Linked DNA regions of Homo sapiens: region 2 is linked to region 1. Evidence: promoter capture Hi-C in human tissues and cell types (Jung and others, 2019). All regions are on one chromosome and are shown on one strand. Each heading gives the region's core, a stretch centred on a gene start or on the middle of the fragment in contact. The rest is flanking DNA. Distances are from core to core; before and after follow the strand shown. Region 1 holds the start of SYT13 (synaptotagmin 13). Region 2 has its middle 25 kb from the start of LINC02696.

Region 1 (5,302 bases), core at 393-2,892:
AGGCTTAGCAGGGACCACATCACAAAGGGATTTGGATAAAGGTTGAGTCTCTTGGGTTTATTCTTGGAGAACCTTTGAGAGCTGTGAGTGACATGATCAGCTTTGTATTTTGGACACCTCCTTTTGATGTCACTGAAGGAAAGAACTAGAGGGAGACTATTGTTTTGATCAAATAGTGTTCTAGAATTTCTGAACCCAGGCCTTAAGACAACTGGCAGCTTCTGCTTCATTCCTCTTAGAATCCAGCCAGCATGCTGTGAGCAGCTCCAGCACCATGGAGAGGTGACATAGAGGACAACCAAAATGCACCAGCTGACAGCCCCATTGTGATCCCAGTGGCAGCCAGCACCTACTGCTCACCACGTGAGTTCACCATTGCACCATCTGCAATGGTGTCTGGAGAGCTGATGTCCCAGTCCAGCTGAACCCCTAGATGACTGCAGTCCCAGAAGACAACATGTTGAGCAGGAAAACCACCCAACTGAGCCCAGCCAACCCATGAAATCATGACAAGTAACACAATAACTGGTCTAAGCCAGTAAGTCATCGGTGGGTTTTTATGCAAGTGTAGATAGCTGAAAAACTGGAGGACGGGTGGGTTCCCAGGTGGTGGTCACAGCTACAGCTCAGAGGAAAAGGTCTGGCTGGAGAGGCTATAGATTTAGGAGACATTGGCTCATAGAAATGTGAAAGCTCTGTTGTGGATGAAATCACCTACATCCCTTTTCACACATGCCCAGCACACCTAGAGCACAGCCAACCCACAGCAAATATCTGCTGAATTAAATTCAACACTCCATATAATGAAGAACACTAAAAAGCCACTGTTTTCTTGAGCTAAGACAGTCCTCATGCCCGGAATTCTAATTTCCCCTTGTTCTAAGCATAGTTTTATGCTCACCCTCTCTGAATCAAGTGTGTACTCCTAGCTGCTGCATTTTATCTTCTTTATCCTCCTAAGACAAGTCCGTTTGAGTGTGGACTTGGAATCTGCAAACATAAGCTTGGGTTCAGGGTGATGATTTTTCTACCTGTGCACCTCTCTTCTGAGCCTCGGCTTCCTCAACTATATATAAAGGTGCGAATACCTGCTGATTAGGTAATAAAGGTGAACTCTTGGGCAACCCTTAAGGGGATGCAGCTGTATTGTCCATCTTCAGCAGGACACAGGTACAGCCTCAACCCAAACATCCCATCTGTTCCCTCTACCTGTGGCCTGTTCCTCTTCCCTGTAAGAACCATCTCCCAGGTTGGGGAGCTGGGAAATCTCCAGCTTTGTGTTTGAAAAAGCTCCCGGAAGACCCAATTTTACAGCCAGCTTGGCCAGCTGCTGGGGTAGAAGGGTGAGCAAGGAGCTAGTAGTCTGGGAAAGTGACTCCTAGAGTCGCAGATCTGGTTGGAGCCCAGGTTTGTCCTCTAACACAGTGTGACCTCCGCAAGCTCCAGCACTTCTTGGGCCCAGTTGTCCCCTGTTGTACACAAAGCATTAAGAATGGCCTGAAACAACCCCAAGGCTCCTTCCACCTGGAAGGCTCCGGCTCCTGTTGGGGTGGGGGTCCGGTCACGTGTTGGCGGGGAGGGGGTTGCCGGTTGACGTGGCTGCGGGTCCAGCCTCCTCTGACGTCCTCGCAGCCGTCCTCCCTCCCTCCGTCCCCGCCCCTCTGGCGGCGGGAGAGCTGCTGGCTCGCCCGGATCCCGGGAGCTGCCTGGAGGCGGGCCCGGCCCGGGGAAGGTGAGCGGCTGCGGGACCCAGCCCCTCGCCGGGAGCGGGCACCATGGTGCTGTCGGTGCCTGTGATCGCGCTGGGCGCCACGCTGGGCACAGCCACCAGCATCCTCGCGTTGTGCGGGGTCACCTGCCTGTGTCGGCACATGCACCCCAAGAAGGGGCTGCTGCCGCGGGACCAGGACCCCGACCTGGAGAAGGCGAAGCCCAGCTTGCTCGGGTCTGCACAACAGGTGAGCGGGGGCGGCGCGCAGGCCCTTCCCGGGCAAGGCGGGGTTGCCGGGCAGCTGCAGAGGGGGAACTGGGGTGGGAGGCGGTCGTGGATCTTTGCGCGACAAAGCTTGGCGGGGAGGGGACAGCAGACGCGTTGGAGGACAGGTCAAGGAGTCAAAAAGGTAGGGGGATGGGGGAGGCTAGGGGATGGGGGAGACGAGACCTGAAGGAGAATTAGGGAGCGGCGAGCTTGTGGGGACTGAGAGAAGAATGGGGGCCAGCAGCGAGACCTAAAGGGAGGGGACAGGAAAGGGGACCTGGATAAGAATTAGGGCTGGGAAGGGTAAGAGGAGAGGGAGGCTGGGAGGGGAATCGCCAGGGTTAGGGAAGACCCTGAGAGGTACCAGAGAATGAGGAGTTTGCAGAATTGGGAAGAAGACTGGGGTCTGTGAGAGGGAGATGGGTGGTGGTTGTGGAGCCAGGGTAGGGCAAGTCCTGCCAGAGCTGAGAAGAGGTAATGCCTGCAAAGCCAGAGGGGAGGTGGCCGCGGTCCCGCAGGAGCTGGGAAGCTAGCTAGCGGGGTCTAGAGAGCTGAATCCGGGAGGAACCTGAAGGACTCTTCCCCACCCCCTAGCAGCTCTGAGCTCCAGCCAGTCAGAGGGGGTTGGTATGGCCTCCCCCAAGATGTCTCTGCAGACGTCCCTGGAGACAGGAGGGCTTTTATCCCATGCATTTGCTCATGGCCAGAGCCCCTTCGTGCAGGAAATAGCCCGTGCTCCCATTGTAAAGAGCAGCAGAAGGGGTCTGGGGAAGCAGTTTGGAAGGATTTCCCTGCATAGGCTGTGACCTCCAGGATGCATTTCCAAAGTACAGAATGCAGAATGTTCTCTGGAGAACCAGGAGGCAAAGAGTCCTGCTAGAGTGATTTGAGGAAGGATGGCCCTGGGGCAGGGGCATGACTTAAAGGACCTCCTAAAGGCCCTCTAGATCCCTTATAGACTGTATGGTTCCAGGAGTGGCACTAAAATGCTGTGACTCCATCTTCCTTTTTCCAATCAATAATTCAAAAGCTCAGAGGACCCAGTTGTGTGGGGCCTGTGTCAGTCACTGTACAGTGAGAGTGGAAAGGAAATGGCTGCTGTCCTTGAGGCACTTATAATCCAAGAACAGTGACATTGACAGTGGCTAAATAGGAGCCGGCTGCACAGCAGAATGTGGGACTTGGGACGATCTGGAAAAGGGGAATAGTGGGCTTTCCACTGGCCAGGTGTTGGGAGTCCTTCTCCACAAGTCGTGGTCGGCCGCCTCTCAACCTTCTTTCCTGCCCAACACACTTGAGGAACAGCCACTCTTCTGCCTTTCAGTGATGTCTCTCCAGGCACCGCCCCCTCCCCTTCCTAGAGAGAACCACTGGGAAACTAGTTGGTGTAAATGACCTCTAGGGTCTCTTCCAACTCTTTGTCTTATTGATGACCAGTAGCCCACAGAACGGCTGATCATCTGTTAAAGAAAAACCAGGTTGTGTCTCTCCCCTGCTTCAAATCCTCCACAACTTCTCACTGAGCTTGGAAGAGGTCATAGCAAACCATGACATAGCATACACTGTGTGCCAGGCGCACTGTTCAGAGTACACTAATTAATGTGTTTCTTGACCCAGTGAGGGAGCCATAGAATGATCCTAACTTAAAGATGAGGAAACTGAGGCTTAGAGAAGGTAACTGACTTGCCTAGAGCTGCACAGCTAGAGAAGTTTTAGAGCCAGACTCTAGCTGAGCTTGTCTGATTCTGGTGGCCACACTATTAGCCACTCCTCTCCACCCACTCACCTGCTTTAACATGGAAGGTGCCTGCCTCTCCAGCCAAGCTCATGCCAGTTTCTTTCTTCATCAGCAGTCTTGGCTTCCCTGGATTTACGATCATTCTTTTAAAACACCAAGCCCTTTTCTGCCCCTTCATTTTTCTCTGGCCTTTCATACAAATGGCTCCTTCTCATCCTTCAGGTCTTTTTCCATTTAAAGTCTCAGGGAGGATTTTGCCTACTGACACATAAAACAAAACACCCTCTTCCTGTTATTCTCTCCCATATTGTTTCTAACAAATCCTTTTATGGCACTCTTTACATTAGGATGCAATCTTTCATATTCACTTACTGGTGTATAATATTTATTCCCAGCACCCTCTCAGTGCCTGGAAAGTAGTAGGTGTCCAATAAGAAATTGTAGATGAATAAAGTCATCTCAGGGGTCATCCAATGGGGATTATCATCTTCAAATACTGGTGCATGCACCATGTCTTTGTAACCATGTGCAAGCTCAATAGGGGCACAATAAATATTTGTTGATACATGATACCTGCCCATCCACATTCCCTTACCTGGTTCCCTCAGTGACAAAGATGTGGGCAACTTGGGGCTGAATCTATGGGTGTGAATGTGTTGAAGCTGAGATCTCACAATGACTTGGTTGCTGTTGTTCTCAGATTCATTCAGCCACTGGCCCAGATGAAGTAAATAGAGAAAAGACAACCAATTGACATTTCAAAGCAAGTAAAGAGGGTGGCAACCATTAGCGGTGACAGATGACAGGAGGGTGATGTACATGGCACCTATTGACAAGTAGGACAAGAGCCAGGGAAGCTCTCTGAGGATGTTCCTTGAGGAAAGAAGGTATGGAGGCTGGAAAATAGGGGTCTAGATGACTGTAATCACAACAGAGGTGTCCAAGGCCTAATAGCCAGTGTCTCTGTAACTCACTAGTTTTGGCTGCTGAAAAAATTCTTTGGGTTTGGAGGCTATTCCTAGAAATCTGATTTCTGACCCTGAATGGCTGGATGAAGTTGAAGTTTGTAGTGATTTTGAAAAGAAATTTGGAGTTTTCCCAGGAGTTTTGTTTATTTTTTACATAAGGTCTGACTCCATCACACAGGCTGGAGTGCAGTGGTGTGATCACGGCTCACTGAAGTCTTGACTTCCTGGGCTCAGGTGATCCTCCCACCTCAGCCTCCCATGTAGCTGGGAATACAGGCACGTGCCACCACGCCTGACTAATTTTTTTTATGTTTTGTAGAGACAAGGCTCACCATGTTGCCTAGGCTGGTCTCAAACTCCTGGGTTCAAGCAATTTGCCTGCCTCAGCCTCTCAAACTGTTAGGGTTACAGGCATGAACCACTGTGCTTTGCCCCCAGGGGTTCTTAATCTGGGTCCACAAACCTCCCACCAAAGGGTCTGTAGATAGCATTAAAAGGTTTGTGGTCTTGGATAGGAAAAAAATGACATCATTATTTTCACTTACCTCTAACTGAAGCAGTATTTTCTGTAATTAGGAATAGCAACAAAAACCATAGCGTATCATCCATACCTGTGAC
Region 2 (5,707 bases), core at 1,304-3,803, 45 kb before region 1:
ACGGGAAAAGAGCCCTAGATAAGTACATAAACAAATGAGTGTGGCTGGGTTCCAACAGAACTTTATTTATAGAAACTGAAATTTGAATTTCATATAATGTTCATGTGTCACAAAATATTATTTATTCTTTTGATTTTTTTCAACAATTTAAATTGTAGAAATCATTCTTAGCCCACAGGCGGCACAAAAACAGATTTGGCAAGTGGGTTGTCGTTTGCCGACCCTGGATCTACTCACCGTCAGTTGTGTTTTCTGTTTCCTGAAGCTGAGTGCCTTCTGGATGATGCTGTCATTTAACCTTCTGTTTCCCAGATGACAACGCTGAGGTCCAGAGAGGCGACAGACAGAACGTTCCCAGGGTCCCAGAGCTTGTTAGTGTCAGAGCTCATAAATCTAAATCTCAAAGCTCCTAACATCAAGTCGAGGATGTTTCCCCGGTACATAAACCCGTTTCCTACTCATTTACACACATTTCTTGCTTTTTCTTCTAGGCTGTAACATTTTCCTTTGTGTCTGTGACTGCGTTTCATTCATACAAAGTGTATAAAGAGCCAAGAGGCTACCAACCTTGATTAAGGACCTACCACATTCCAGACACTTTACATTACTTAATCCTACAACAGTTGTGAGGTAGATGTTATTATGCCCACTGCACAGATGGGGAAATAGAGGCTCCGAGAGGACAGAACCACGCCCAACTTCACCCAGGGAGTAGGTGGTGGTCCCAGTCCCACCAGTGCCCTTCCTGCTGAATCTAGCTGTCTCCCACGCTTCACTGCTCGACTCTGGGTGTACCCTAATGAAGAAGACATGGCCCCTTTTCTCTGGCCACTGAATATTTTCCTTTCTGAAGTGGTTCTTGGCAGGGCTAATATATTAGAAACAGTGGCGGGAGAGTGGGGGCGGCGGTGGGGATGATGAAGTGCCATTCACCATCTCGTCCACTAGAGGGCAGAAAGAGGCCATGTTTCTGTAACAATTCTGCACCTTAACTCCCTGGTTCCGTTGAATTCATTCACAGGTTCATGGGAAACTTAGGGGAAATAATATGTTTCAGCCTTTTATTCCAACCTCCTCATTTTTCTGATGAGAAAAACGGAATCCCACAAGTGTCGTGTTGTTTACCCAGGGTCAGACATCGTGACTCATTAAATCAACAAATGTTAATTGAATGTTCATTGAGTCAATCCATGTCACTGCACAAACACTCATGGGTGATGGAGACACAAGAGTGGCAGGAGAGACGTGGCCCCTTCCCACACCAAGGCTGCAGGCGAGTGGAGCACAGGGGCAATGAGAAGTGATCAGATCAACACAATTATCAGCAATTGTGGGGAGGGGGTTAAGAGATGGAGGGACAGGAACAAGATCTGTGTGGAGGTGGCATTTCCCCCGAGCCTGAAGATGAAGAGCAGCCAGGCTTTCAAGGAGCTGGGGGCCAAGAATTCCAGGAATAAGGAACCACAAGAGGGAGACTTCTTGGCTTGTGCTAGAGCCTGGCAGACAAGGACCAGCAGCATGACTTAGTTGAGTCAGGGAAGGAAGGGGGTGTAAGAGACCTAATGTCATGATAATCATTAGCACTGAAGCTTCACTATGTACCGAGCTCTACGGAGCCGGTGCATTTGCTCATGCATCCTCCCCACAAATCTCTGCTTTGCAAACACAATTACTCCCATTTTATAGCCTCAGAGGGGTTGAGCCACTTGGCCAAGGCCATGCAGCCTGAAAGTGGTCTAGCTGGGACTTGAACCTGCACCTGTCTGACTCCAGCACCCAAACTCATCCTCACTATTCCAATTAAAGGCAGAGCTAATACTAAACCCCTGAGATCCCGTCTCGTGGCCAGGACTCTCTCCATAACCCTGTCCTTCTCTTGCCTTTGAGGAAAGCATACTTCACTGTCAGTTCTTCAGCCTGGGTGGCAGGGATGAAGGCAGAAGTTAAATAATAAAGAGGAAAAGGTTTTTTTCTAGAAATCAATGACTAAAGACTGGGAAGAGAATTCCTAAAACTCAAGTCAAGGACTGTCTCCTTTCGAAAACGGTGTGTACGAGAACATACGGCTCTCTGACCATCCACACAGACTCATGAGAAGGAGAGGAAGGACACCTCTCACTTCTGAACACTGCCTTGAAGCTTAGAGAAGTCAGATGTGACTCCCGAAGCTGAGCCGACATTCCAGGGCTCCTGGGAAATGTATCAAGTTGTGTGCAGTAGCATGGCTGCCCCACTATCTTCTGACTTTTGATGCATGGCCTGCCATTAGGGCACAGGCCTGTAGTGTTATCACTGGGGGCTGGGCTTTGGGGTACATGGAGAGCTTCAGGAAGAGGGAGGATGAAGAGTAAATCTGGGTTTCCTTCCTTAGCCTTGGTTCCCAGCCTCCCTCCTGCCTCTAGACCCTGGCATCCCCATGCTGGGTGTCAGTTTATCTCTTCTGTCCTGTTTCCTTCACCTGTCCAAACCCTTCTAGTCATCAAGGCATACCACCCCCAACCCCAGTCTCAAAGCTGCCACCAACATTCTCTCCAGGCCTCACAGTGTCTCTCTGCCCTCCACCCATTTGCTCATATAGTCTGGAGATAACAGAGGTCAGCATTTGTTCAGCAGAGGGAAAACACAGGCTTTGGCATTAGAAAACCCAGGCTTGAGTCCCTGGCCTCATGTTGGCAGGCTGCATGATCTTGGATGAATGACCACACCTCCCTGAGCTACCTCAGCCAGGCTCAGGGCTAGCTCAGGGTAGCAATGGTGAACAGTCCCTCCCTCAAAGAGCTACTGTTTTAATCTTCCCATCTGGAAGATGGACGTTGTAACAACCACTTCTCTGGCTGGTTGTGAGCATGAAGAAAAGAGGCATACAAGGAACTACTTTTGAATTTCAATGTTCCATCCCAGTTTTATTTTCCCCAACAGTTACTTCACGGTTGCCTTGTTTTTCTCATCTGCAAAATGGGGACAAATGCCTACTTATTTTAGGCACATTCCAGCAGTCTAGCAGAGCAGGAGGCATCACAGACTGTGGCTGGGAGGATGGTCTCTGGGGTCATTCTAACTGGTTTTTCATCTTGGTGCTGCTTTTTCCTGCCTTTGGGACCCTGGACAAGTTATCCAAGCCCTGTGCCTCAGTTTCCTAATCTATAAAATGGAAGATGACTGTGTCTATTTTCCAGAGTTGATGGGAGACTCCTCTATTTCCTTTGGGTGGTGTAACAAATTACTATAAACTGGGTGGCTTATAACAACAGAAAATTACACACTCACAGTTCTAGAGGCTAGAAGTCTGAAATCAGGGTGTCGGCAGGGCTGCACTCCCTCCAAACGCTATAGAGAAAATCTAGGCTGGGTATGGTGGCTCACACCTGTGATCCCAGCACATTGGGAGGCCAAGGCAGGTGGATCACCTGAGGTCAGGGGTTCGAGACCAGCCTGACCAATATGGGGAAACCCCATCCCTACTAAAAATACAAAAATTAACTGGGCGTGGTGATGTGCATCTGTAGTCCCAGCTACTTGGGATGCTGAGACAGCAGAATTGCTTGAACCCGGGAGGCGGAGGTTGCAGTGAGCTGAGATCGTGCCGCTGCATTCCAGCGTGGGCGACACGCTGTCTCGAAAAAGCAGCGAGACTCTGTCTTGAAAAAGCAGCGAGACTCTGTCTCGAAAAAAAAAAAAGAAAAAGAAAAAAGAAAATCTATTCTTGCCTTTTTGTGTTCCTTGGGTTGTGGCTGCAGAACTCCAATCTTTGTCCCTCTGTCTCTTCTTCATGGATCCCTTATAAAGGCACTTGTCATTGGATAGAGAGCCCACCTAGATAACACAGTATGACTCCAACCCAGGATTCTTAATTATATCACCAAAGATCAATTTTCCAAATATGATCATATTCACAGGTTCTGGGCATTAGGACACAGATGTATCTTTTGGGGGCCACCATTCTACCCACTCTAGAAGCCAAATAATGAATCCATGTAATGGGGTCAGCACAGAGCCAGGCACACTGGAAGTGCTCCATTGATAAGAGCTACTACTGTTGCACATCTAGAAATTGTGCCTGAAGTTTAACTCTAGAAATTGGACCCACACAAGAACAGAAACCCAAGTGTAGAAAGATTGGGTCCTTCTGTCCCTGTAGGCCTCTAGGGCTGTTGGCCCAACTTGTAGCACTGCATTTCCCAACTTAACCAGACTGATTTCAGCTTTGAGATTCCTCAAATTCTCTCTCTGTTCTGAACAGGCTTTTGTTGAAGCCCCTTATTATTGCAAAGCTTGCGTTTTGCTCCATTAAAAGCAGTCTGAAGGTGACAGCCAGTCAGAGGTTGAGAACAGGGTACCTGGCAGGAGGGAGAGAAATGTCCAGCCAAGGCAGTCCTGATGGCTCAGCCTCATGTTGGATCTCAGGCTGAAGTCAGTTTGGTTGCATCAGGGAATGCCAAGCATCAGGTTTAAGGGTCAAGGCAGGTTTTCACTGAAAAGAAAGGAGACTGCTTTCATCCTGAGTGAGAGTCAGTTCTGTGGCCGAGCTGGATGGGGTGTGTACAGGTGTTGGGGTGACATCTGGTTGGAGAAAGGATAGGAAAAAGAATGGCCTGGGTCGAGGAGAAGGGCAAGGAGGCTGCAAAGGTGGAGAGAGACCGAGGGAGCCCAGACTTTTCTTCAGACTTTACAGCAGCTTTGTGGAAGAGAAGGACCACAGGACTGCTCAGAGCCTCAGTTTTCTCAGCTGTGAAATGGGATCACAGTGGGACCTGTGCCTTCAGGACTTAGCACATTGCAAGTACACAGGCAGTGCTAAGTGATGCCTATTGATACTCCCACCAGCATCAAAAGGAACAAAAGGGCAGCCAAGGCCCTTTAGGGGTGACTGGTTCAGATCTAGGCAGCAGAAGGACCTGATCTCCAAGCTTGACCTGCCTGTGTCTGGGCTGGAAATGAAGCCAGAGGGGCAAACTTACAGTGTGCGGAAAGCAGAGAGGGGAGGTCTTTGTGCTGATGGAGAGTTGGTTCTTAAACCCCACAAAGCGTGTTCTGTTCCACAGTTTACGGGCTGGCAGTATAATTAGAAAGGTAATATTTTATAACTGTTTTGTGACCCTATTTTTACCCCCAGAGAATCCCAGAAATAACTAGTGGTCAGGTCCTTGCCAGAAGCAACATCAATATGGTGTCATTGTCCCTGGACTGATGGAGCTGGGTGGTCACCCTGGGATGGAGCACTTTTCCCCAGTATTCCCCAGCTCTGCACAAAACTGACCCAACAGAGAGGAAAGTCCACACCACCTTCCCCAGGCTGGAGGCCATTACCACACCAGCTTCTGAGACTCTCCTCCCCTTGAGGCCAATCTTGGCTGGTCTGAGCTTTATTTTTCAACAAAGCTGTTTGCTCACCAAGATGAAGAAAGAATCCTTGAGTTAAGAAGCAAGTATAATTTTAACAGCTCTTCCTCTTGTTCCATGAGTTCAGAATGACTTTGGTAGCTCCCTTTTCTGGAAAACTTCCCGCTTGATCCAGTGTAATTATCTTTTTTTTTTTAAGTTGAGAGGCTCAGATCACTCTCACAGCAACCTCTTAGTTCAATCACAGTGAACCTGCAGAACTCAAAACACAAAGAGAATGTCTTAAAGCAGTCAGGGAGAATAGAAGATCATTTTAAAGGAATGACAATTCGACTGGGACCTAACCTTTCTCAAACCCTAATGGAAG

Evidence for each region. The method cuts DNA at HindIII sites, captures the fragments that hold promoters and counts their contacts. A contact is called where the count stands out against the background at its distance.
Region 2: a contact is called between a fragment that was not itself captured here and the fragment with the promoter of SYT13 in region 1, in 2 of the 25 tissues and cell types used here (dorsolateral prefrontal cortex and liver).

What each region holds. Positions count from the first base shown.
Region 1 is chr11:45,282,681-45,287,982 of GRCh38, reverse strand. SYT13 (synaptotagmin 13) reads left to right here and starts at 1,642. Exons shown (of 6, transcript NM_020826.3): 1 at 1,642-1,958. The coding sequence starts at 1,776. RefSeq lists an enhancer at 1,461-2,247. The HindIII fragment of the contact is 8,257 bases long and covers 1-3,926 here.
Region 2 is chr11:45,327,828-45,333,534 of GRCh38, reverse strand. No RefSeq gene overlaps it. Among named protein-coding and RNA genes, the nearest start is that of LINC02696, 25 kb to the left of the region's middle. The HindIII fragment of the contact is 4,072 bases long and covers 518-4,589 here.